7 separate regions of the Homo sapiens genome follow, and regions 1, 2, 3, 4, 5 and 7 are each linked to region 6. Evidence: promoter capture Hi-C in 16 types of primary human blood cells and fetal thymus (Javierre and others, 2016). All regions are on one chromosome and are shown on one strand. Each heading gives the region's core, a stretch centred on a gene start or on the middle of the fragment in contact. The rest is flanking DNA. Distances are from core to core; before and after follow the strand shown. Region 1 overlaps RSF1 (remodeling and spacing factor 1). Region 2 overlaps RSF1 (remodeling and spacing factor 1). Region 3 overlaps NARS2 (asparaginyl-tRNA synthetase 2, mitochondrial). Region 4 overlaps NARS2 (asparaginyl-tRNA synthetase 2, mitochondrial). Region 5 overlaps GAB2 (GRB2 associated binding protein 2). Region 6 holds the start of THRSP (thyroid hormone responsive). Region 7 overlaps RSF1 (remodeling and spacing factor 1).

The links. The method cuts DNA at HindIII sites, captures the fragments that hold promoters and counts their contacts. A CHiCAGO score of 5 or more calls a contact.
Region 1: a contact is called between a fragment that was not itself captured here and the fragment with the promoter of THRSP in region 6, in 1 of 17 cell types (erythroblasts). The highest score is 5.3, in erythroblasts.
Region 2: a fragment that was not itself captured here is called in contact with the fragment with the promoter of THRSP in region 6 in 2 of 17 cell types (endothelial precursors and non-activated CD4 T cells); the score reaches 7.5 in endothelial precursors.
Region 3: a fragment that was not itself captured here is called in contact with the fragment with the promoter of THRSP in region 6 in 1 of 17 cell types (activated CD4 T cells); the score reaches 5.9 in activated CD4 T cells.
Region 4: a contact is called between a fragment that was not itself captured here and the fragment with the promoter of THRSP in region 6, in 4 of 17 cell types (activated CD4 T cells, M2 macrophages, total CD4 T cells and 1 more). The highest score is 6.9, in activated CD4 T cells.
Region 5: a contact is called between a fragment that was not itself captured here and the fragment with the promoter of THRSP in region 6, in 2 of 17 cell types (activated CD4 T cells and non-activated CD4 T cells). The highest score is 5.5, in activated CD4 T cells.
Region 7: a contact is called between a fragment that was not itself captured here and the fragment with the promoter of THRSP in region 6, in 1 of 17 cell types (erythroblasts). The highest score is 5.9, in erythroblasts.

Annotation. Positions count from the first base shown.
Region 1 is chr11:77,677,998-77,680,784 of GRCh38, reverse strand. It overlaps RSF1 (remodeling and spacing factor 1), which reads left to right. Exons shown (of 16, transcript NM_016578.4): 12 at 2,632-2,699. Among named protein-coding and RNA genes, the nearest start is that of CLNS1A, 42 kb to the right of the region's middle. The HindIII fragment of the contact is 4,778 bases long and covers 1-2,787 here.
Region 2 is chr11:77,733,147-77,735,957 of GRCh38, reverse strand. The region is part of intron 4 of RSF1 (remodeling and spacing factor 1); the gene reads left to right. It also overlaps the pseudogene FTH1P16. Among named protein-coding and RNA genes, the nearest start is that of RSF1-IT1, 5.2 kb to the left of the region's middle. The HindIII fragment of the contact is 2,148 bases long and covers 349-2,496 here.
Region 3 is chr11:78,454,481-78,457,291 of GRCh38, reverse strand. The region is part of intron 11 of NARS2 (asparaginyl-tRNA synthetase 2, mitochondrial); the gene reads left to right. Among named protein-coding and RNA genes, the nearest start is that of LINC02728, 26 kb to the right of the region's middle. The HindIII fragment of the contact is 2,929 bases long and covers 1-2,778 here.
Region 4 is chr11:78,435,646-78,438,475 of GRCh38, reverse strand. It overlaps NARS2 (asparaginyl-tRNA synthetase 2, mitochondrial), which reads left to right. Exons shown (of 14, transcript NM_024678.6): 14 at 1,662-2,508. The coding sequence ends at 1,806. Among named protein-coding and RNA genes, the nearest start is that of LINC02728, 7.2 kb to the right of the region's middle. The HindIII fragment of the contact is 4,868 bases long and covers 1-2,830 here.
Region 5 is chr11:78,384,056-78,386,948 of GRCh38, reverse strand. All of the region lies in intron 1 of GAB2 (GRB2 associated binding protein 2), which reads left to right. It also overlaps the pseudogene ZNF75CP. Among named protein-coding and RNA genes, the nearest start is that of GAB2, 32 kb to the left of the region's middle. The HindIII fragment of the contact is 809 bases long and covers 938-1,746 here.
Region 6 is chr11:78,062,428-78,065,200 of GRCh38, reverse strand. It overlaps THRSP (thyroid hormone responsive), which reads right to left and starts at 1,340. Exons shown (of 2, transcript NM_003251.4): 1 at 860-1,340. The coding sequence starts at 1,319. The coding sequence ends at 879. All of the region lies in intron 1 of NDUFC2-KCTD14 (NDUFC2-KCTD14 readthrough), which reads left to right. The HindIII fragment of the contact is 4,485 bases long and covers 1-1,595 here.
Region 7 is chr11:77,703,715-77,706,602 of GRCh38, reverse strand. All of the region lies in intron 5 of RSF1 (remodeling and spacing factor 1), which reads left to right. Among named protein-coding and RNA genes, the nearest start is that of RSF1-IT1, 35 kb to the left of the region's middle. The HindIII fragment of the contact is 5,156 bases long and covers 1-2,888 here.

The DNA.
Region 1 (2,787 bases), core at 96-2,595, 380 kb after region 6:
AGCTACAAGAATGTTTCTCATAATATTGCAATTGTGAAAAATTGGAAATAAACTGTTTTAACTAAATATGATACATCTGTAAGGTGAGATACTATGCAGCCAGTAAAAATTACATTGTAAAAGAAGAGCTCTCCATCTGAAATTTGTGAGTCCTTTGAAATTATATATTCTAACTCAGAAGGCAGGATGTTTAGTTTTTAGAGACGGGGTCTTGTTATGTTGCCTAGACTGGACTCCCAACTCCTGGGCTCAAGCCATCCTACTGCCTCAGCCTCCCAAATAGTTGGGACTATGGGTGTATACAGCCACTTCCAGCCTCCAGCTTTTAGTCTTTTTTCTTTTTTTGAGACAGGATTTCACTCTGTCACACAGGCTGGAGTGCAGTGGCATGATCACAGCTCACTGCGGCCTCGAACTCCTATCCACAAGCAGTCCTATTGCCTCAGCTTCCCAGAGTGCTAGGACTACAGGCACACATCACCACACCTGGCTAATTTTTTTAATTTTTTATTTTTGTAGATACAGGGTCTCACCATATAGCCCAGATTGGTCTCAACCTCCTGGGCTCAAGTTATACTCCTGCCTCAGCCTCCCAAGAGTGCTGAGCCACTGCACCCAGCCCTAGCTTTTAGTTTTGATGCTGTTGTTAATCCATTGTGTGCCCGTAATCCCACCCTCTTCAATATAATATACTCTGGTGATGGAAATAGAATCTATTTCTTTGATGTCTGATATGGTGGCCATAGCCATATGTGACTATTGAATACTTGAATTATGTCTAGTGAGGAACAGAATTTTAAATTTTAATGAATTTAAATATAAATAGCCACACAGGCTAGTAATTACCATTTTTAGCGTAGATTTAAACAAGTTACTTCATCCTTTTGGCTGAGCCCTGAAGTAAAAGGCATTTTATATGTGAAGAAATCTTAGGAATCCTTTAGTCTTGATCCTTTTCTTTAAGTCAAGGTAAACAGCTTCAAGAAATACTTTTACCTAGTTCTAAAATTTTAACCATTTGTGTATGAATTTCAGTTATAATATAATTTTCAATAGCAGTAATAATATAGCCCTATTATTGGGACTCTTTTTCTTTTCTTTTTTTTTTTTTTGAGACAGGGTCTCGCTCTGTCCCCCAGGCTGGAGTGCAGTGGTGCATTCTCGGCTTACTTCATCCTCTGCCTCTTGGGCTCAAGCAATCCTCTTGTCTCGGCCCCCCAAGTAGCTGGAACTACAGGCACGCACCACACACCCAGCTAATTTTTTGTATTCTTTATAGAGACAGGGGTTCACCATGTTGCCCAAGCTGGTCTTGAACTCCTGGGCTCAAGTGATCTGCCTGCCTTGGCCTCCCAAAGTGCTGAGATTACAGATGTAAGCCACTGTGCCCAGACATATTATTAGGACTTAATAGTATTTATGGAACTGTAATTTTGTTTTACTTACTTTGCCATGTGATTTGTATAATTAGGAGTTGGCAAATTATGGCCTGTGGGCCAAATTCAGCTCACTTCTAGTTTTTGTACAACGTGACCTCAAAGTGGTTTTTATAAATGTTTGAAGAAAAGGATCAAAAGAAAAATGATATCCTGTGAAAATTATATGGAAATTACCTATAATTCAAATTTTAATGCTCATAAAGTTTTATTGAAACACGTCTGTATCATTTACTTACATGTTGTCCGTAGCTGCTTTGCACTACAATAGCAGAGTTGAGTAGTTACAACAGAGACTGCATTGTCTGAAAAGCCTAAAATATTTACCATCTGGCCCTTTATAAAAATTTTTGCTGACATTGCCTCAGTCTAATTTGGCTGCTATCAGAAAGTAACCGTAAACTGGATAGCCTATAATCAACAGAAATTTATTTCTTGCGGTTCTAGAAACTAGGAGGTCCAAGGTCAAGATACTGGCAGGTATGCTGTCTGGTGAGGGCCTGCTTTCTGGTTCATAGATGGCACCTTCTAGGGTGTTCTTAATCACGGAAGGGATGAGGGGAGTTTTTAGGGTAGACCCGATGCCTAGTGAAGGCCTGCTCCTTCATAGATGGCCATCTTCTCACTGTAACCCCATATGGTGGAAGAAACAAAGGGTCTCTCTCTGGCTTCTTTTATATGGGCACTAATCTTATACATGAGGGCTCTGCCAAAGACCCCACCTCCTAATACCATCACCTTGAGATTTAATATTTCAACATGGGGATTTTGAGGGGACATAAACAATCAGACAGTAACAGACATCTGCTAAAGGTAATCTTTAAAAATAAAAGGACAGCTGGGTGCGGTGGCTCACGCCTGTAATCCCAGCACTTTGGGAGACTGAGGCGGGCAGATCACGAGGTCGAGATCGAGACCATTCTGGCCAACATGATGAAACCCTGTCTCTACTAAAAGTACAAAAATTAGCTGGGTTTGGTGGCACGCGTCTGTAGTCCCAGCTACTCGGGAGGCTGAGGCTGGAGAATCCCTTGAACCCGGGAGGCAGAGGTTGCAGTGAGCCGAGATGGCGCCACTGCACTCCAGCCTGGCAACAAAGAGAGACTCCGTCTCAAAAATAAATAAATAAAAATAATTAAAAAAAAAAAAAAAAAAGCCAGGACAGGCTATAATGTGATCATTGTGTATATTTTAGATTTGATGAGTTTGATGAAGCAATTGATGAAGCTATTGAAGATGACATCAAAGAAGCCGATGGAGGAGGTATGTGTTTGTCGTTCTCTCTTCTTCATAGAACTCTGCCAAGAAGTTCATTCAGGTGCCCAAATTAGGGCAGTGAGCATATGTTTTT
Region 2 (2,811 bases), core at 173-2,672, 330 kb after region 6:
AGACCATCCTGGCCAACATGGTGAAACTCCGTCTCTACTAAAAATACAAAAATTAGCTGGCATTGTGGCGTGTGCCTGTAGTCCCAGCTACTCGGAAGGCTGAGGCAGGGGAATCACTTGAACCCAGTAGGCAGAGGTTGCAGTGAGCCAAGATTGCGCCACTGCACTCCAGCCTGGCGACAACAGAGCGGCCTCCATCTCAAAAAAGAAGAAAAAAGAAAATTAAGTGATAAGGGAAGAACAAGTAAAGCAAATGAGATTTTGACTTTGACTTTTTCATTTAATAGGTTGCATTTAGGTGCTTTTCTTAGCTAGTAAGTATTATTTTTTACTAGTAAATTAAAAGCTTCTTGTTTTTTCTTAAAACAATTTCTTTAAAGTAACAGTATTATTTTCTTGGTGATCGGCTGGTGTTGGAAACGTGTTTCTACCTAATTCTTAAAAGAGGATTATATAACAAAAGTTATCTAGTCTTTAGGGTTCCGTTTTCTAAAGCTAATAAGTCAGCCTTCTTAATGATTGATAAATTTAGAAATATAACTGAACTTTGCAAATTAAACATCAAATGGAATTTTTAAAAAATGAGAATCCACCAAAAAGGGATAATTTTACATAGTTGATCTACTGAAAATTTCATACCATGACATCACCACAGTCTTAAAACTTGTACTGTTACGTAGCAACTTCCATTTCTGCAAGTTGCAAAATTAATAATATAAATATAGAGACGTTCTTTGCCGAGAGTCGTCGGGGTTTCCTGCTTCAACAGTGCTTGGACGGAACCCGGTGCTCGTCCCCCACCCCAGCCGGCCGCCCATAGCCAGCCCTCCCTCACCTCTTCACGGCACCCTCAGACCGCCCCAAGGCCCCTGCCGCCGCCCCAGCGCCACGCAGCCACTGCCACCGCCGCCACCTCTCCTTAGTCGCCGCCATGAGGACCACGTCCACCTCACAGGTGCGCCAGAACTACCACCAGGACTCAGAGGCCGCCATCAACCGCCAGATCAACCTAGAGCTCTGTGCCTCCTACGTTTACCTGTCCATGTCTTACTGCTTTGACCGTGATGATGTGGCTTTGAAGAACTTTGCCAAATACTTTCTTCACCAATCTCATGAGGAGAGGGAGCATGCTGAGAAACTGATGAAGCTGCAGAACCAACGAGGTGGCCGAATCTTCCTTCAGGATATCAAAAAACCAGACTGTGATGACTGGGAGAGCGGGCTGAATGTGATGGAGTGTGCATTACATTTGGAAAAAAATGTGAATCAGTCACTACTGGAACTGCACAAATTGGCCACTGACAAAAATGACCCCCATTTGTGTGACTTCATTGAGACACATTACCTGAATGAGCAGGTGAAAGCCATCAAAGAATTGGATGACCATGTGACCAACTTGCACAAGATGGGAGCACTCGAATCTGGCTTGGCAGAATATCTCTTTGACAAGCACACCCTGGGAGACAGTGATAATGAAAGCTAAGCCTCGGCTAATTTCCCCGTAGCCGTGGGGTGACTTCCCTGGTCACCAAGGCAGTGCATGCATGTTGGGGTTTCCTTTACCTTTTCTATAAGTTGTACCAAAACATCCACCTAAGTTCTTTGATTTGTGCCATTCCTTCAGATGAAGAAATTTGGTACCCCCCCCCAAAAAAAGTAATAATAATAATATAAATATATGTATTAGATGAATAGATAGGAAGCAATTAACTTATATATAATTATACTTTAAGTTGAAACAAGATTTAGTATGTGATTTACAAAACAATAGAAGTAGTTAAGTTTCATTAAACCATATGAAATTGTTAACATTTGAACATTTTGACCTATAAAAATGGTGATTTCATATGGCTCAATCAAGTATTATAACAGGTTTCAATAGCAAAAATGTTTAAGCTCCAGCCAGTGTCCTACTTATTCCAGTTAATGTTTAAAACAGAATTGCCACAAAAGCATTATTTCATCTTTAGGCCTCAATGAAAGAAGATAAAAGTACAGAAAAAAAAATTTTACATCTAATCAAATATGATGTAATAAGTGATTTTATTCACTCCATGGGGTATGTCAATAGAATTTGTTTAGGAATGAAAAAGATGGGCTCAGCATGATGGCTCACACCTATAACCTCAGCACTTTGGGAGGCCCAGGTGAGCAGTTTGCTTGAACCCAGCAGTTGGAGACCTGCCTAGGCAACTTGATGAAACCCTGTCTCTACAACAAATACAAAAATCAGCAAGGTGTGGTGGCACTTGCCTGTAGTCTCAGTGACTTGAGAGGCTGAGGTGGGAGGATTGCTTGAGCACAGGAGCTTGAGGCTGCAGTGAACTGTGATTGTACCACTGCACTCTAGCCTGGGCAACAGAGTGAGACCCTGTGTCTCAAAAAAAAAAAAAAAAAAAATCAAAGATGTAAACATAACAAGGTGGTAGTGTTTGGTTATTAATGATTAGAGAATTTTAGCAAATAAAGACCATAGACCAGATTCCATCACAAGCTTCTTCAGGATCTTAGTGGGACTACAGAAAGTACTTTTGTACCAAGTATACTAAGGAAGATAAAGTTATATGCAGACTATTAAGCAGTTACTTCATAAAGAATATATATATATATAGCCAGTATTCATATGAAAAAGTGCTTAGCATCATTATTCATTGTAGAATTTCCAATTAAAACCACAATGAGGTATTACCTTACTTCCATTAGAATTAGTAAAACGAAAATGGCTTACAGCACCAAATGTTAACAAGGATATGAACCAACTGAAACACCTTCTTGTATATGTAAAATGATACAACCACTTTGGGAAAGTTT
Region 3 (2,811 bases), core at 65-2,564, 390 kb before region 6:
AGGATGGGGAAATATCTAATCTACACTTGTAACTTTTGGCCAGAGGGTAATAAATAGTAAAATGGTATGTTTTTACAGTTATAATTTATCTTCCTTTCTCCCCACCTCTCAGTAGAAATGAAGGTATGCGCTGTGGTGTACTGAAAAGTACACAGGATGCAGAGTGGTTCTGGGTTTGAAATCTAGATACCTTACTAGTTACCTGTGTCACCTCAGGCAAGTCTCTGTGATCTTTCAGCCTCAATTTCTCCCTCTGTATAATCAGAGAATTGGATTAAGTGACCTCTAAAGTATTACCTCTCTAAGATTCTCTGATTTCCTGTAGCCTAAGTTTTTCTTCATATGCATGGATAAGACTAACTTATAAATTACTGAGCATATTTGATCATTTGAAAGGGACAGATCATGGGAAAATGAATCTAAGCAAATATGCAAAATGCCATATGCCTCTGAGGCTGGTCTCCAGGTAAGTCCCTCAAAGCCAGGTGGCAGATGTTCAGCTGGGGGAGTGGCTTCACAGAGAAGAATAGTCTTTTATTCTACACACGTGTAATTAGGAAAAAGTGACTGCCCCTCAGTCCTTGATGAGATGCCACAATCACCAGGTAGTGTTCTAATTTTCAAAATTATATCAGTATTACTTAGCAAACCAGAGAAAGGTCAGCATTAGTGGGCATTCAGTAAAGTACATACTGTGAAGTCAACTCAGAAAGGAGAATACTCAGCCAAGGGGTGTGCAATAAATTTCCCAGAGCTGTGGCTAATTAACCAACCTGCATCAAAATAGCTCGAGCCACCAACCAACAGAAATAGTGATGAAGGGAATTGCCAATTTTCCCCATATCTAGGACTAAAGAGAATCCTAGAAATTTTTGTCAAAATTGAAAGTATCCATTTCAGTCTGTCGTAAAATACTTTGAGATTCTTTATCATGACATATTTTATATTAATACTTTGAATTGTAGAGTTAGGGAACATAGGGAAGAGAAATCCTTTTATGTGTGTGATACAGACTTCTAAGGTTTTGTTACCAAACTGTTTCTCCCATTTCAGTCTTCCCAGTGTGTCTTAATTGAACAAGTTTGGTTAAAGCAACTGAGATAAAAGTGAACGTAAATGCCTCCTAAGTCTTTTGGTAGAGTAAGAGTGTCGAGGAATCTTCATTATTAAAAGTAGCAAGGAAAAGACATTTAGGGAGTTGAGAAATTATTTATATTGTCTCACTTAACTAAATAAGATTAACTTTGTAAGATTAGAGATTACTTAAAACATGGTAGACAGAGGAAAATGGAAGAAAAGATTAACAAAGATTAAATTTTTGACGTTCCAAATTGACATCTATTATTGAGTACCCGTGTGGCAAGCATAACGTTAAAACATTCAAAAGAGAAAACAATAATGTTTATCGAGTATGTGCCGATAATTAACTTTTATCCCTTTCTTACAGATGAGGCTGCTACCTCTCAGTGCAGCAGTATAGTCACTCATGCAAAATCACACCGCTAGCAGGTATTGAAGCTAGGCTGTAAAGGCAGAAATACAGCATATATGGCAGCTTCATTAGAATCCTGATCTTTCTGGGAGTGAAGAGTTTGTGTGGGGTGGCAGGAAGAGCTATGGACTTAGAGCCAGGAGACTTGGGTTTTGTTCCTGGATATACCACTTGATCTTTCTTGTCCTCAGTATTCTCAGGGGATCATAGTCAATCTCTGGTGATAGAGGTCAGGAAAGAGGTTACTTTTGGTAGGGGTAGTAACTAAAAGAAGACCTTAGGAGGACTTTTTTGGGGTACTGCTATTGTTCAGTTTATTGATCCGTATGGTGCTTCATGGTGTGTTTGTGAAAATTTATAGAACTGTATACTAGTTATTTGTGTACTTTTTACACATATTTTATACTTTAAGTTTACTTTAAAAGGGAATTACACACTTGTATCATCACAGGTTTGTTGTGGAAATCAGATGAACAAATGTTTTTAAAATTGCTTTAAAAATTAAAATTCTATGCTATAAAAATAATGGAGTAAGGAATTATTGGGTGATAAAGATGGCTAGACAAGATAGGAACAATTATGGAGAGATTGGAGTGTTACAGATAGCTTGGGCTTTATCCAGTAAAAAACAGAGAGGCATTGTATGTATTCTAAGATACTGGCAAGATGAAAAAATTAACCTGACATATAGAATGGATTGGGGAAGGGGGGAATTAAAGACACATAAGATAATTATGGGACTTTTGCTTATAATCTCAACAGTGAAAATGGAGAGAAAGAAATGAACCTAAAACATTCTGAAGGAATAAACAGTGGTCTGTGTGTTAGTCCATTTTACTGAAATAGAGTTGCTCTAAGTTGCTATAAAAAAATACCTGAGACTGGCTGGGCACGGTGGCTCATGCTTGTGATCCCAGCACTTTGGGAGGCCAAGGCAGGCAAATCACAAGGTCAGGAGTTCGAGACCAGCCTGGCCAACATGGTGAAACCTGTCTCTACTAAAAATACGAAAAATTAGCTGAGCGTAGTGGCAGGTGCCTATAATCCCAGCTACTTGGGAGGCTGAGGCAAGAGAATCGCTTGAACCCGGGAGGTGGAGGTTGCAGTGAGCCGAGATCACGCCACTGCACTCCAGCCCAGGCGACAGAATGAGGCTACATTAAAAAAAAAAAAAACACCTGAGACTTGGTAATTTATAAAACAAAGAGTTTTATTTGGCTCGTGGTTCTGCAGACTGTACAAGAATGGCATCAACTTCTCAGCTTCTGGTGTGGCCTCAGGAAGCTTTTACTCATGACAAAAAGGCAAAGAGGGAACAG
Region 4 (2,830 bases), core at 248-2,747, 370 kb before region 6:
CAGCCAGGTCAGGTCCTGTAGGCATCTGTGACAGGTAGTTTGGTGTGCTGTTCATTTCATCACTGAGTCAAAGTGTACTCTTTCCCGCTGCCTCGTAAACTTTAAAGTTAATTTAGCAACTAAACATTTCAGTTATTCAAGACTGAATAACTGAATGTGCCTCCCATTATTTCTTATAGTTATTACTAATCTGAAGTTTTATACTAGATATCCCTGTAATGTTGGTCTCTTACCTGATTACAACTCATCTGTTTGGAGTTAATCTTTTCCTTTAAAAAGATAAGTGCTTAGACTTAACTCCTTGCAATACCAGTATATGTAGCCATTATTATTAATGGTGGGGAAATAGGTTGATGGACAGTCTTTATGACTGAGGAACCAAGTGGCTACAAGTTATGTTGCTTACGTCTTATTATAGAACTGATTTTACAAATCATTCAAGAAAATATAAACTTGCTTGGTTTTTGTCTTTTTTTTTTTTTCTTTCTTTTTTTTTTTTTTGATACAGAATCTCACTCTGTCACCCAGGCTGGAGTGCAGTGGCTCCATCTCTGCTCACTGCAACCTCCACTTCCCAGGTTCAAGCGACTCCTCTGCCTCAGCCTCCTGAGTAGCTGGGATTACAGACGGGCGCCACTACGCCTGGCTAATTTTCCTATTTTTAGTAGAGACGGGGTATCACCACTTTGGCAGTGCTGGCCTTGAACTCCTGAGCTAGTGATCCGCCCACCTCGGCCTCCCAAAGTGCTGGAATTACAGGCATGAGCCACCACACCCGGCCGATAAACTTGTTTTAATCAATATTATATAACTCAAGAATTTCCCCACAAAATGACATAATAAAATATTTATAGTTGCCCTTTTCCTCTTTTCTTCCTAAAACTTTTTCCAGTGCTGGTGTGTTAGAATCTGAGTTTCAGTCATGTCTGTGCCATTGTCTTGCCATGTGGTCTTTAGTGGGAAAAGAATGTGCGTGGATGGGTTTCAGAGGCTGTCTAGCATGTCAGCTAAATGACTCTGGGCATCTTCACTAGGCCTAAGGCAGAGAATTAAAGGTTTCTCCTCACTCCAGCATTCAAGCATATATTTTTGTGCCTTCAAACAAAACTTCATGTAATTAACACCTACTCTAGAGCTCCCTGGTGATAAAAAGTTGAATGAAGCACAGTTCCTGCCCTGTTGTAGCTTATAATCTAATCTATAGGATATCTTTTCATAATGTAACAGGCAAAACTCTGCACTCTCCTCTGTGTATTGAACAATATGATTTTGGGAAGGAAAAGAAAACATTGTGATTAACCTACCAAGAAATAAAAGAGGCGTATATTTTCAAGAAAATTAGTAAATCTATAGAAAATTTTCTGTAGCCTCCTGAGGCAAGTTTTCTGTCATAAATGCATAAATATAATAGCTTAAAAAGGAAAAGGGACCAAAGCCCATGACTGTATGACAGGATCCACTGCTGTTTCTCTGGGTAACCTTGGATAGATTATTCAGCTTCTTCCTTTCCATTGTCTGTCTGTGGAGGGGAAAGACTGGTCTATCACAGTGAGGTAAACAATAACAAATGATTGCAAAATACGTTTGAAACATTAAATTCTAATCATAACATCTGGTCTTATACTATATATAGATGATGATTTTCTATTTTTGAAAAACAGGTATCTGGACCTTCGTCGATTTGGATCTGTGCCACATGGAGGTTTTGGGATGGGATTTGAACGCTACCTGCAGTGCATCTTGGGTGTTGACAATATCAAAGATGTTATCCCTTTCCCAAGGTTTCCTCATTCATGCCTTTTATAGCTGGAAGATTGGTTAAGGAAAAGCACCCCCCATGGCAGAGACACTGCACATGATTGTGCATACAGCAGAATGCATGTTTGGATTTTAGAAATGCAGATTTCAATATGTAATTGTTGTGCCATAAGATATCATAGAAAAAATATAAGTGGTTGTGATTTTCTTAGAAAGTTGAGGGTATTTCACGTAAGGATGAGCTCCCGCAAGAAGAGGTACTTATAGCAAGGGGACTCTCAAATCCATTACCTCAATTAAGAAATGAAGAAATTGAATTAGTCTCAAAGTTTCTTTTAAACTCTAAAACAGAATGAGATAATGTATTTTACGTTGTCTATAATCATTAAATCACTCCCTGTGTAATTTGTGAGAACCATCTAGTAGCTCGAAATAAAATAATGTTGCATCTTTTCTCCCTTGCCATATACTTTGTGATAAATCCTTATCTCATTTTCAGTACTTCATTAAACATTGCAGAAAAAAATATTCCTTAAGGTCTTAATTGATTTAAAGAAGTAGCTATTCTGAATTGAAATCTCCTTTCATTGAACTGGATGAAAAAATCATGTTTAATAACTGTTGCTTTTCAATTTTCAAAGCTGTTGAGATATTACATTAAGTATTTCAACTCTTTAATCACTGTTGTTATAATTTGTTTATATTTGATGTTTATAATTTGTCTAATAAAATAGATTTTTTTAATAGACACCTATGGAAAAAAAGTTATATATTTTTTAATTTCATTTGGTCCTTTCCCAGTAAAATTTGGAAGAAAGGTATTTTCAATCCAAGATGAGGATGGGAGTTTGGCTGAGCCTAAAGGATGGGTAATTCTAGAGTTAAAAGTAGTGTGGTCAGCTGGGCATGGTGGCTCACGCCTGTAATTCCAGCACTTTGGGAGGGTGAGGCGGGCGGATCACTTGAGGTCAGTAGTTCCAGACCAGTCTGGACAACATGGTGAAACCCCATCTCTACTAAAAATACAAAAATTAGCCAGGCGTGGTGGCAGGCGCCTATAATCCCAGCTACT
Region 5 (2,893 bases), core at 93-2,592, 320 kb before region 6:
AATAAATATATAGAAGGCTTGGCCAACATTTATAAACCAGATGTAAATCCGTGCCTTCCAACTTCCTTGACATCACATTGTCTCTTCGTAAGAGATAGTCACTTTGGCCAGTAGGGAAGACAGGAAAACCAATAACATGAGTAAACAATTTACATCTTGCCTGGCCCTGACTGCGGTCATTACTCTAAGCCACATGCCTTACTTTGCTCTGACACTTCAGGATGTTCCCTCCTGGTATTAGCTGTGCACCAAGGCTAAGAGGTCACAGGGCCCTCCTTGCCATTCTCAATAAATCAGTTTTGGAAAACCTCCAGGCCTTCTTGCAGAGTATTCAGGCATATAGGGTTGTAGCTGATCAGCCATAAGGACAGGCCTCCCTTTAGGCCCTGCAGCAGTGTAGCACCAGTTTGAAAGCCTCCATCCAGTGCACATAATGAAAGTCAGAAAAAGACCTTCATTACTTATGTGTACTTTCTACAAAGAAACAGATACCTGGATGAGGGCCAAGACTGCCTCCTTCATCATTCCATTTTGTGTTGTCTGTGTTGACAGAGTCAGCAAGAGAAGAGATATCAAGTGCTTGCAGGGTCCCTAGGTCTGTCCTTGTAGCCAGACCTTCCCTTGCTACTTGTAATTCCTTGACAGAAGACATTGTGGTAGTGGGTACTCAGGAAAGAAGCAACTAGAATGGGGCACTTCTCCCAGGGCAAACACTGAATCCTCTTTCTGTTATAAAGTTCCCTGAGTCCTGGGTTTGATTGTTCACATAGATAGAATGATAGCTATTGAAACTGTCCCTAACTTAGTAATTCTCTCTGAACTCCCTTGAGAGGGCCCAGGTACTCTTACCTTCCATCTCTCCTGACAAAGAATAAAGAATGAGTCTAAGAGTCTTGACCATCATATATCTCAGGCACTGACTGGGGATGGGGAAGCTTTGAATAACCAGATACATACGTATAGATAGACAGGTAAAGATATCTCATAGCTACACTTTCATTTTTTTATTAATAAAATACTAATTATGTATCAGTCTTGTGCTAGGCATGAAAGATGCAATGCTGAATAAGACAGGTTAGATAACTTTTGTGAAGCATAATATGTACCCCTCCCAAATGTTCTGTTGATGACAGATTCCTATCATTGGGTGCCTCATAATTTTGTATTCTTTCATCACATCTAAAATCAATCTCTACATGGTAACTTTCCTCAGTTTGGAGACATTGGACATGCTTCCCATCTTCTGTGGAGTTTCTGGTGTCTAAGAAGGCTCAACTGCCTACTAAAGTTTCTCCTGCATATGCTACAAGTATAAGGCTGCTCACCTGTGTGAGTTCTCTGGTATTTAATAAGGTTGGATTTGTGAATGAATATTTTCCCACATTCATGACATTTAAAGGGCTTCTCTCCTGTGTGAATTCTTTGGTGTGTTTGTAGATTTGTGTCATAACTAATGCTTTTCCCATACCATGAGCATCTATATGGGTTTATTCCTTGATGTGTCATGAAGTGCTTATTAAGACCTGAACTCCATCTAAACCTCCTGTCACATTGTTGACATTTATAGAGTTTCTCTTCAGTGTGAATTCTCTGGTGCTTAATAAGATCTGAGCTAACTCTGAAGATTTTCCCACAGTCCTGACATTTAAAAGGTTTCTCTCCTGTGTGGCCTTTCCCGTGAAGATCCATAAGTTTTGGAAGCTCTTGTTTACAAGTTGTAAGTTTCTTTTCTTCCTTGGAAAAGCTTGATGCCATTTCTATACCCTGTGTGTATCACCATGATTTTCCCTGTCCTTTGTTTTCTGGGCAATTTTCATTCTGGTCTTTTTTGATACTTTGTATCCTGCTGTTTGTATTTCAGGTGCAGAAACCGATATTATAGGATAGTCATTTCCATTGTCATTTTTTAGCTTTAACCCTAGAGAGATGGCAGTCTCATAGATATCCTGCATTACATCATTGTAGAGAGTCTTCTCAAGAGGACCTAATAATTGCCATTCTTCCTCAGAGAAGTACACAGCCATGTCTTCAAATGTCAATAAACTCTGGGACTCAGGCCAGATGAGCTTAGGTGCCATCTTCCAGTCTTTGGTGCTTTTGTGCTCAGAAAGGGCTAAAATCTGTTGAACATGCACAGCTCTTTCATATACAGGCTGGGTTTCTTTCTGAGTATTCCAGCCCAGCTGTTCTTGTAGTACCCTGTATGTGTTCCAGTATTCTTTCTAGAACAGACCCATTGGTTCGAGCTCTGCTGGCTTCCACTTGAAGCCTGGGGCCACTGTTGTTCCTCTCAAGAGCACTGCCTCCTCTCCCAGCTCATGGGCTGTGACCTCATTCTTTGTTCCACCAGGTTCTCTCTGCAAGCGTTCCACCAGGACCAGGGCCTGTTTGGCAAGCTGTGGATGATGCTTCTGCACCCAGTTCTGGGTCCCCTTTGGCAGGATGGTCAGGAAGTGCTCTAGTACCAGCATTTCCAAAATGTGCTTTTTTGAGTGGATCTCTGGCCTCAGCCACTGATGGCACAATTTCTGAAGTTGGTTGATAGCCTCAAGCGGTTCAGTTGCTTCATGATAATGGAAGCTCCGGAAGTGCCTGCAAGCACTCCCAGGACTGAGACACTCGATTTGTGTGCTGTATTTCTTACTCTGACTGGAGTTCTCTTTCACAGACCTGTTGGTCTCCCACATAGCTCCCATATGAGAGTTCAAGCATGCATCTGCCTTCAGCTCTCTCATTATCATTTGCTCTAGGAAGAGTTTTACTCCTGTGTGTGACATTCACACCCATCTGGTGCCACCTTTGAGGTGCATCAGGTTTGGTACATTTTGGTACAAAATGAGAGTGCAGGTTTGGTACAAAATCAATGAATAGATCTTCCCAAGAACACTTCAGT
Region 6 (2,773 bases), core at 91-2,590:
TTGGTGGGTTCCAACCTGGGATGGTCAGAGTACCCCCAGCCTGTTGTAGCAGTACTGCAAGCAGCCTCACCTATGTATCCCCATGTGCCATATAATAATTTTCCATGTTCTGTGACTTGAAAAAATGTTGGGAAACACTGTCACACAAATGGAATTCACAATGTTCACTTAAATCAATGTGCATGCCTTAGGTAAGTTTTTTTTTTTTTTTTGAGATGGAGTCTCCCTCTGTCACCTAGGCTGGAGTGCAGTGGCACAATCTCAGCTCACTGCAACCTCTGCCTCCCAGGTTCATGCCATTCTCCTGCCTCAGCCTCCCGAGTAGCTGGGACTACAGGCACCCACCACCACGCCCAGCTAATTTTTTGTATTTTTAGTAGAGATTGGGTTTCACCATGTTAGCCAGGATGGTCTCAATCTCCTGGCCTCATGATCCGCCCGCCTCGGCCTCCCAAAGTGCTTTGGTGTGAGCCACCGCGCCTGGCCCCTCTTCAATTAAATTCTTAACAAAGTCACTGATGAGAACACACTCATTCAATTCACACATTTACAAGCATTCACATACTAATAAATGCACACATGCACAAACACATATATGTGCATATGAGATATGCCCTCACAGGCCACTTTTCCCTCTGTTTCCATATCACTTCATTGCAATTGCCAATTTGAGGTCAGAAGGATAGTAACACAGGCCTAGTCTTAGGCCCTCCTAGGTTGTGGTCCCAATACCCTGACCCAAGAGTGGCTCTGTCTGAAAGTCAGGCTGTTCCTCTCCCAGTGGGTTGCACCACTGCCCCCTCTCCTCTCCTGGAATGTCCCTTTGTAGACTCACACCCACCAGCATGGCCACCATTACCTTCCCTAGTGTCCAAGGTCTACCAAACTTGTCCCGTCATTTCCTGGTATTTCCTTGTCACCTCCTGGGCTTTCTCGGTGAGGTGCATGAGGATGTGATGGAGGCTGGAGAAGTGCAGGTGGAACTGGGCTTCCAGGTCCAGCTCTCCTGAGGCACTCTCGTCCTCGACTTCCTCTGTCTCTGCGGTTCCATTCTCTTCGCTGCCTGCCACCTTGGCCTGCCACTCCTCCCGCGGCAGCAGCCCATGGTCCACATCCACACAGATGGCCTTGAGCATGGTGAAGTAGGTGTAGAGATCAGGGGCCTCAGCCTGGGCCTGGCCCCCAGGCCCACTCAGCTGCACGTCCCGCAGAAGGCTGGGGATCATCACCACCTGCTCCATGTTGTGCACCTCGGCTGCATACCGGTCCATGACGGTCAGCAGGCAGTTCTTGGGGTAACGCTTGGTTAGCACCTGCATGGTTGCTTCCTCTGACACAATGAGACCAGCAGACTGCCCCCGCACTATTTCTAGGCTCTCGGCAGATTGACAGGATGCCAATGCCCAGCTGTTGGGTCAACACAGCCCTGTTTTGGGCCAATCCCAGGGCTCAGGCCCCAGCATCTGTATCAGGTGATCCATCTGCCCAGAGACAGATCTGCCAGCCTTCTACTTGTCATCCCAGCTCTGCATGACTGCCCCAGCAAGAACCCGACTCTTCCTCTGTCAGCTTGCTGAGCCAGTTGGAAGGAAGCTTTTCCCTTTGGCAACTGGTATACTGGACTTCAGGGCAATAAATAATTCTTTCAGGTCACTGGAGACCAAGCTGTCTCTTTGCTGCCTGCTTAGGGCAGCCCTCCAAAGCACAGTTCACTCCTTCAACCTGGGGTGACTCCATTGTGAAATGGAGAGGATTTGAAGTGAAACAGCTTGATGTGGGGCAAGGAACACTGAGGTTGGAGTCAGAAGCCCAGTACTGCAATTTCCTAGCTGAGTTTTTTTTTGTTTGTTTTTTGCTGGCTAACATTTATTGAGCACCTACTGCACATCAGGGTCTGCTGAGCTTTTTCGTGAGTGATCTCATTTAATCTTCACCACAACCCTTGTAAATGTTTTATTTATTTAATTTTTGTAGAGATGGTCTTGCTATGTTGCCCAGTCTGGTTTTGAACTTCTGGACTCAAGCAATCCTCCCACCTCAGCCTCCCAAAGTGCTGGAATTGCAGGTGTGAACCACCAGTATTCCTGTTTTGCCAGTGAGGAAATTTAGGTGCAGACAGCTAAAGTAACTTGCTCAAGGTCCCACTGGGGCTGGGATTCCAGCCCAGGACCACCTCTACCCACCTCCAGGCAGTGCTGTGGACTGACATGAGGTTACATAGTCATACAAGTTAACCAGATCCATATCCTCTGTAAATTTGAGGTGGTGTGAGGATTGAATAAGACAAACTAATAAAAATGCTTTGTATCAGTCCAGACAAGCGGCTGGGATCAAAAGAGGAAAAAAAATGCTTTGTAAACCACAAAGCCCAATCCTCAGATGTATTATCTATGCAGATTCTAGATTATTGCTAAGGCTTCTCCCAAATCTAACCAGTCATTCCATAAGCTACAATGCTTCCACTTTATTACTGACCTTTCCTTGGACCAGCAGTCTTGGAAGATAATAATCTTTTGCGTGGTCATATTGTCATAGTTTACAAACTGCATTTGCTATATATTTTTTATTAGATATTTAAGAAAATGGCCGGGCGCAGTGGCTCACGCCTGTAATCCCAGCACTTTGGGAAGCCCAGGCGGGTGGATCACGAGGTCAGGAGATCGAGACCATCTTGGCTAACGTGGTGAAACCCTGTCTCTACTAAAAATACAAAAAATAAGCCGGGCGTGGTGGTGGGCGCCTGCAGTCCCGGCTACTCGGGAGGCTGAGGCAG
Region 7 (2,888 bases), core at 265-2,764, 360 kb after region 6:
ACAGAGTAAAACAAAAAAGTGATGGCAGCTTTGGGAAACTGAATTTTCCGATGTGGCTGAAGTTTCTGGTAAAAAGATGGGGCCAAATAATTAATAATAGCTCCCAAGTACTGTGTAAAAGTACTTTGCATGCTCCATTTTCAAAAAGTCCCCTAAGATAAAAAGAAAAAAAAATCCTCACAGCTCCTCCTTGAGGTATAGATATTTATGTTTCAGTTTTAAAGAGCTTAGAGTCTAAAGAGACTTAGAAAGTTTCAAGTAATTTTCTAAAGGTCCCACAGCTGGCCAAGGTGGAGGTGACACAAGAGCGTTAAGGTTTGTCTGACTCTTTGAGAGTCTTAATTTTTTTTTTTTTTTTTTTTGGAGACAGAGTCTCACTCTGTCGCCAGGCTGGAGTGCAGTGGGGCAATCTCAGCTCACTGCAGCCTCTGCCTCCCGGGTTCAAGCCATTTTCCTGCCTCAGCCTCTCGAGTAGCTGGGACTACAGGCTCACACCACCCCACCCTGCTAATTTTGTATCTTTAGTAGAGACAGGGTTTCACCGTGTTGACCTTTGTGATCTGCCCACCTTAGCCTCCCAAAGTGCTGGGATTACAGGCGTAAGCCACTGCACCTGGCTGAGAGTCTTAATTTTTAATGAAATAGTTCAAATAAAAAATAGTATAAAACACTTGTATATCCAACATTTTATTTGTGTGGTGGGTTTTTTTGTTGGTTTGTTGGGTTTTTTTGTTTTTTTGGTTTTTTTTTGAGACAGGGTCTTGCTTTGTCGCACCAACAAGAATGTAGTGAGTCATAGCTCACTACAGCCTTGACTTCCTGGGCTCAAGCAATCCTCCCACGTAGCTGGGACCACAGCTCCTTCTCCAGGTATTGTGTATAGAATCTGGACCCAAAGAAGGGAAAAGGGCAAAAGGCACCAGTCAGCTGACTCCCTTCTCACCCACGACTTCCTCATACATGTCATTGGTCATAACTGGATCACATGACTCACAGCTTTAAGGTGTTTGAGGAGGCAAGTGCCTTCCTGAACAAAATAAGTTCTGTTTGTAAAAAGGAAGAGGAGAATAGATAATCGGCAGGCAACTCAGTGTCTTCTACTGTTAACTTTTATAGAATATTCAATGTATCATTACAGAGTGATTCTGCTAGGGGTGGTGGAGAAAGCACATAATAAGTGATCAATAAATATTTGTTGAGTAAATGAATGAATCACCTTTAAAAACCCACAGTAGCTACCACTTCTCTTGAGTCACCTCATTTGTGAAGAAATGTGATGCTGTGTTTCAATTTTTGGAGTGAATTTTTCCTTTGGTCACTTCAAATTTTATGCCTTTTAAACTCATTTATGTGCTCTTTTACAACTTTCTTTTGACAAACTTTGGGAAAATGCTTGTGTAACTGACCTTTTTACTAATTATTATAGTGCTTAAAGGTTCATATTCTGTCCTAGTTCTTCCTTCCTCTACACTATTTTGGAAACATATTTATTTAATTTAGAGGAGCTAGAATATTAATTGTTGTCATTTTTTTCTCTTAAAAGAACCAAGCCGGCCAGGCATGGTGGCTCACACCTGTAATCCCAGCATTTTGGGAGGCCAAGGTGGGCGGATCACCTGCAGTCAGGAGTTCGAGACCCGCCTGACCAACATGGAGAAACCCCGCCTCTACTAAATATACAAAATTAGCCGGGCGTAGTGGTGCATGCCTGTAATCCCAGCTACTGGGAGGCTGAGGCAAGAGAATCGCTTGAACCCAGGAGACGGAGGTTGTGGTGAGCTGAGATCATGCCATTGCACTCCAGCCTGGGCAACAAGAGCGAAACTTCGTCTCAAAAAAAAAAAAAAAACCAAGGCAAACACACAAAAAACCAAAGAATTTAACATTTTTAGAATAAAAGAAATATGACACCAGCGAAGAATAATAGTTGAGGTTATTTAGTCCAGCTGCTTTATTTATAGATGAAGAAAGATCAGTGAGTTTGTGACACACCCAAAGATGCATCACTAGCTAAATTAGTGTTAGTGAACCTGGGAATCTTGAACCTAATGTCATTTCTTGTTTTATTTTGCTATGTTGTTACTCAAACCAAGATCAGTTACCTTCGAATGAAAACATGGAGAAATCTGAAGAAACTGAGAAACTTAATTTTACGTTGGATCAGGGTCATGATGAAATCTTTAGATACTTTCTGAACCATAGAATAGGGATAAAAAATATTAACTTGTGTTTAGCCACACTTAGTATTGGGTTGAAGGTTTTTTTGTTTTGTTTGTTTGTTTCTATTTTTTGAGACAGGATCTCACTCTGTCACCCAGGCTGGAATGTATCCAGGCTGGAATGTGGTGGCATGATCAGGGATCAGGGTTAACCTTGAACTCCTGGGCTCCAGTGATCCTTCCACCTCAGCCTACCCAGTAGCTGGAACTACAAGCACACACCACCATGCCCCGGCTACTTTTTGTATTTTTTGTAGAGACAGAGTTTCACCATGCTGTCCAGGCTGGTCTCAAACTCCTGAGCTCAAGCGATCCACCCAACTTGGCCTCCCAAAGTGCTGGGATTAAAGGCGTGAGCCATTGCACGTGGCAGTTGAAGTTATTTTTAAAGATAGTAATCAGTATTTTAACCGTTAAACAAGGTGTTCATTTAGTTAAATTTCCTGATATACTAGCTAATCTCAATAAATGAGAATTTATTAAACCTGTTTTATCAGTGGGAAAGAGAAAACATGCAACTTAGGTAATTACTGTCATCTCTGTTTTTTTCTTACCTTATTTATGCTGTAGGACTTTTATATTTTGAATTTTTGAAATTTTTTTTTACTCTCATCTCTTGAAATATTTTAGCAGCATTCCCTATGGCACTGACTTTGTAAAGAAGGAAGA